2 separate regions of the Homo sapiens genome follow, and region 2 is linked to region 1. The links are contacts of gene promoters, found by promoter capture Hi-C in blood cells and fetal thymus (Javierre and others, 2016). All regions are on one chromosome and are shown on one strand. The core of a region is centred on a gene start or on the middle of the fragment in contact, and the rest is flanking DNA. Distances in the headings are between cores, read along the strand shown.

What was found. Contacts are between HindIII fragments. The CHiCAGO score rates a contact against its expected background, and 5 or more counts as called.
Region 2: a fragment that was not itself captured here is called in contact with the fragment with the promoter of P2RX2 in region 1 in 2 of 17 cell types (M0 macrophages and total B cells); the score reaches 7.7 in M0 macrophages.

The regions. Positions count from the first base shown.
Region 1 is chr12:132,617,251-132,620,104 of GRCh38, reverse strand. P2RX2 (purinergic receptor P2X 2) reads right to left here and starts at 1,329. Exons shown (of 11, transcript NM_170682.4): 1 at 1,116-1,329; 2 at 531-666; 3 at 355-426; 4 at 186-261; 5 at 9-105. The coding sequence starts at 1,288. The HindIII fragment of the contact is 12,004 bases long and covers 1-2,534 here.
Region 2 is chr12:132,127,087-132,129,881 of GRCh38, reverse strand. It overlaps the pseudogene LOC107987169. Among named protein-coding and RNA genes, the nearest start is that of DDX51, 16 kb to the left of the region's middle. RefSeq lists an enhancer at 2,236-2,736. The HindIII fragment of the contact is 1,282 bases long and covers 738-2,019 here.

The sequences.
Region 1 (2,854 bases), core at 80-2,579:
AGGTGCACCTGACAGAGGCCCCATCTTCCACCGGGCACCAGCCGAACACCTCGCAGGTCTTGGAGGGCCCCTGGTAATAGGGCACACAGCGCCCAGTCCTCAGGCCTGGGAGGCAGAGGTCACTGAGGCATTAGCGGGGACGCAGCCCTGCCCCACCCGCCCAGCCCCAGCTGGCGCACACCGACCGTTTCCCAGCATGTCCAGCTCCCCAGCCACGCAGTCGGCGTCGGAGAGGCAGGTGGCGTTGTGGACCCTTATGCTCTAGGGTGGAGGCGGCCCAGTCAGGGACCCCGCAAGGGACAGCTGGCCCGCCTAGCTGAGGCGGGGTCCCCCAGCGCCGCGGGATCCCCTCACCTCGGGGCAGGTTCCCTGGGTCTGGGAGTGGGTGGCCTCGACCCTGGTGATGATGCTGAACACGCTGCCCCCCTGGGCTCAGAAAGAGGGGGCGGTCGGCCAGGCGGCAGCCGCTGCCCCCTCCGCCCACTAGGGTAGGGTGCACGGCGGGGCGGGGGGCAGGGGGCGGCCCGCACCTCGGGGGGCTTCACGTACTCCTCCACGTCCCACACTTTGTGCTCGGACGTGGTGATCCCCTTGACCTTGGTGATGATGGAGCTCTCGGGGCCCGTCTCGCTCTCCTGGTAGCTTTTCTGCACGATGAATACGTACCTGCGGGCAGGGGCGGCGCCGGCTCCGGAGGCGACCCTGGGAAGGCTGAGTCCCGCCCGCAGGCACGGCAGGGGCCCTCCCGCGACCCGGGTCCGCTCTGCGGGGCTCTTGGGGCCTGCCCCGCGCCCTCGGTCCCAGCCCCAGCCCCTGCCCCGCGCCCCCGGTCCCAGCCCCAGCCCCTGCCCCGCGCCCCTGGTCCCAGCCCCAGCCCCGCGCCTCCAGCCCAGCACCCCGAGTCCCAGCCCCTGCCCCACGCCCCCAGTCCCAGCCCCTGCCCCGCGCCCCCAATCCCAGCCCCTGCCCCGCGCCCCCGGTCCCAGCCCCAGCCCCTGCCCCGCGCCCCCGGTCCCAGCCCCAGCCCCAGCCCCGCGCCTCCAGCCCAGCGCCCCCAATCCCAGCCCCTCCCCTGCGCCCCGCACCCCGCGCCCCGCACCCCGCGCCCCGCGCACCACACGAAGTAGAGCAGGATGAGCAGCTGCACGGCGCGGTACAGGACCCCCAGGCGCCGGTTCCTCACCACGATCACCTTGGGCGTCTCGTAGTCCCAGAGGGCGGACCAGCAGCCCCGGGCCAGGCGCCGGGCGGTCGCCCCGGCGGGGTACTTGGGCTGGGCGGCGGCCATGGCGCGGGCGGCCCCCACCTCCAGGAAGGCGCTGCAGGGCTGAGGGTCGGCCCCGCTGCGCACCGAGAGCGGGGGGCGCGCGGCGGGCGGGTAGCTCGCGGCTCCGCCTCCGGGGTGCGGCCTCGAGCCCGCCCCGCCTCGCCCCGGCCCCGCCCCGCCCCGCAGGTGTCCCGGGAGTCCCGGGTGTCCCAGGTGGGGCTGGGAGCGGGGCCTCGCGGGGACAGAGCCGGGGGCGCGGCAGCCCAGCCCCAGCTCTTGGTCCAGGTGGGGGCCGAGCGCGGAACCGGCGGTCTCGAAGTTGGAGGGTCGGGATTCCCCGGGTGGGAACTTTTTCCGAGCTCGAGGAGAAAGACATGGGAAGTCCCGCCGGCCTCCGCGGCGCCCCCCACCCCGTCCAGGCCGGTTCCTGCCGCGGCTGCCGGGGCTTCGAGCGCAACCTGCACTCCCGCCTTTGCCAGCAGACGCCTCGCTTCCAGCTCCTGCCTCCGCCGCAGCTCCAGCCCTCGAGCTGGAGAGGGATCCACGGCCGATCCGTTTTCTTCTTTGCAAGCCAGAGTTTTCTTTCTTTCTTTCTTTCTTTTTTTTTTTTTTTGGTAACTTTTCGAACCTCCACCCCACCCACATTATTTTGAAGCAAATCCCAAGCATCACAGTTTTTCACAAAATAATTTTAAAATAGTTTATTATGATAAAATCAGCATAGCATGTAATTAACTATTTTAAAGTAAACAATTCAGTGACATTCACAACATTGTGCAACCACCACCGCCTCTGTTTCGTCCCCAAACACTTTCCCCACCCCAAAATAAAACTCCCATCCATTAAGCAGTCACGACCCGTTCCACACTCCTCCCATGCCCTGGCAACCACTGGTCGCTTTTCTGTCTCAGTGAATGGACTTGCCTGTTCTGGATATTTCATATCAAGGAAATGCAATATTTGTTTCTGGGTTAATGCCTTTTCTGTCTGGCTTCATTCACTGAGCATGTTTTCAAGGTTCATCCACATTGTAGCATGTGTCAGGGCATCACCCCTTCTTATGGCCAGGAGAAATGTCTAGGCTATCCAAAGAAGGAATTTAGATTGCTTTCAAACTAACTCTGTGAATAGTGCTGTTATAAACACTGGTGCATAAGTATTTGTTTGAACTGTTAAATTAACTCAATTAACAGGCTGCCTCTGTGCCTTGAGTTTCTAGGTAACAACAAACTGCAACCTAATGTACCACAGAAACAAGCTAAAAGCTTAACCTATGAGTATATTTTGGAACAAATAGCTGGGTCTCAGCCAGTCACAGGCTGCTAACTGATCTGATCATGCCATATAAGGCAAACATTTCAAGCAGTAACAAAATCAAGCTAATTGTGATTTTTTTTTTTTTGTATCTCACTTCTGTGTTCTATCTATAAAAACTTCCTGCCCACATTACAGAGTGGAGCTCTCGAACCTCCCCCATTGGTTCTGAGTGCTGCCCAATTCATGAGTTGTGTTTTGCTCAATTAAACTCTGTTGGCTGGGCACAGTGGCTCATACCTGTAATCCCAGCACTTTGGGAGGCCAACATGG
Region 2 (2,795 bases), core at 129-2,628, 490 kb after region 1:
CACGCCTGTAATCCCAGCACTTTGGGAGGCCGAGGCGGGCAGATCACAAGGTCAGGAGATCGAGACCACCCTGGCTAACATGGTGAAACCTTGTCTCTATTAAAAATACAAAAAAATTAGCCAGGCATGGTGGTGGACACCTGTGGTCCCAGCTACTTGGGAGGCTGAGGCAAGAAAATGATGTGAACCTGGGAGGCGGAGCTTGCAGTGAGCCAATATCACTTCACTCCAGCCTGGGCAACACAGCCAGACTCCGTCTCAAAAACAAACAAACAAACAAACAAACAAACAAAAAAACTGCAGTATAATTTACATACAGTCCAAGTCGCTGTTTCTGATGCATACTTCAGTTTTGATCAATGCACACAGCCATGTAACAACCATCAGCATCAAGATACAGAATCTTTCCACAGCCCCCCAGAATTCCCTCTTGTCCCTCTGAAAGTCAGTCCTTCCACTGCCCCAGCCCCTCGTGACTGCAGAGCTCTTCTCTGTTGCTATAGTGTTGTCTTTTCCAGAATGTCATATAAAAACAAAAACTGCAGCCTTCTAAGTGTGGCCTCTTTCACTCTGCATAAGACATTTCAGGCTTATCCCCGCTGCCCCCAGCATCAGTGGCCCAGTCCTGTCTCCTGCTGAGTGCTGTTTTATGGAACCGGTGGGCTGCCGTTTGTTTACCCATTGGCCAGTTGAAGAGTGTCTGGGTTGCTTTCAGTTTTAGGTAAATGAATAAAGCTTCTGTGAACACTTGCATCATTTTTCATTGTGGTTACAGTATTTGGTTATTGTGTGGACATATGTCTTCATTTCTCTGGTATAAAGAATGAGGGGCAGGATTGCTGGGTCATACAGTAAATGATTGTTTTATTTTATAAGAAACTGCCAAACTGATTCCAGAGGGCTCCACTATCTTGTAGTCCCACCAACAAGGTATGAGAATTTCTGTTGTTCCACACCCTCACTAACACTTGGTTTTGGTCTTGTCTTTTTTTTTTTTAAGGCATTCTCACGGGTGTGCAGTAGTTTCTCATTGTGATTTTTATTTGCATTTCCCAGAGGACAGTGCTTATTTGCCACCTAGAGAGCTTCTTTGGTGGAGTGTCTGCTCAAATCTGTTGCCCACTGTACAAAATAAGTTGTTTTTGTATTAGTGAGCTTTGACAGTTTTTTGTATGTTCTGGTTACACGTCCTTAATCAGCTACATGACTGGCAAAGGTTTTCTCCTGGTAACTTGTCTTTTCATTCTCTAAACAATGGTTTTCACATAGCAAGAAGGTTTAATTTTATTAAAGTATGACTTGCCAATTTTTTTCCTTTTATAGGCTCTATTTTTGGTGTCATATCTAAGAAATGTTTACTTAACCTATAGTCACAAAACTTTTTTCCTATGTTTCATAGTTTTGAATTTCATGTTTGGGTCTATGATTCATTGAGTTAATTTTCTATGGGGTGTGAGGTAGGGATCAAGATTACTTCCATTAAGTTTTGAATTTCAATTATTACATTTTTCATTTTTAGAGGTTCTATTTGGTTCATTTATTATCTGCTTAGCCTCTGATACTCTCTTGCTTATTTATGCTTTTTAGCTTCTCCTTTGTTTCTTCAAACACATTAAACATATTTGCATTTCCTATTCTAACATCTGAGTCTTTGCAGGTGTGCTTCTTTTGGCCATAACTTCTGAGGCCCCTTCTCTTGTGTGTGCTGTGATTTTCCACTATGAGCTTATAGTCTAGGGATCCTGCTGGCTGGAATTCCTTGAGGCCTGGGTTGGGGGTTCCTCCTGCAAGGACATACATTTCTTTCTACCAGAGGCCTGGGGGCACTATAGCTCCAGATATGCTTGCAATTAAAAGTCACAGTTTGCAGTTCTTTTGAACATGTAAATAATATGAACTTTGGCCCTATACCTGTGATGGAGAGTGCTAGCCAGGGGCCATAAATTTATAGGAGAGACTTTTTAAAGATGTTCCATCCACAGCCATGGCCAAGTGAGATACTGTTTCTGCAGTGAAGCTTAGAGTAGTAGTTTGCCCACTTCATCATTTCCTGGTAGTGTTTGCTGTATCCCTCTGTGAGCCCAGCCTTATATGGGGGTCTCCAATTTGGTTCTGCCCCTCCCTGGGCCCAAGGCTTCTCCAGACTGCTCCCCAAACTTACCTCAAAGTTCTAGGTCATCTGGGTCCATGGGGACCCAGGCCATAGAGTGTCTTTAGCACAGAACTACCTCCTTAGACTTCAGCCCTCGCCTGGTTTCTAGACTCACTATCCTGCAGACTCATTCACGGTTTTATATATTTTATCTGGCACTTTTTGAAAATCTGGCATTTTTAGATGTTTTGTTGAGATAGATTTTCAGGTTCTCTCATCTACCATATTACCAGAAATAGAAGTCCTTGTCAGAGTGATTTTTCACAGAAATCATTGTAAATATTTTTGAAAAATTATACTATACAGCAAAGCAAGCTCTCCCCTAGAGAGCAAATATATGTAAAAATTACAGGGTCAGAGTTCCTTGACACTCGGCCCCTCCCCACCTCCAGAAGCCCATGCAGGGAGCCTCCTCAGCTCTGTTTAACGGCTGCCTCCAAAAGGAAGGGGCTCAGTCCAGCCCCACTCTGGCCTAAGGGCCCTGAATGATGAGTGTGAGATGCAGCTCCCACAAAGCCCAGCGGCCACTTACCTTCCGCTGTGCAGCAGCAGGCCTGGAGCGGCTGAGGGCTGCACAGCTTTTTACTGCTGGTGGTGTTTCAGCTTTCGGAGCTGCTGCATGTGCAGAGGCTGCACAGCCAAT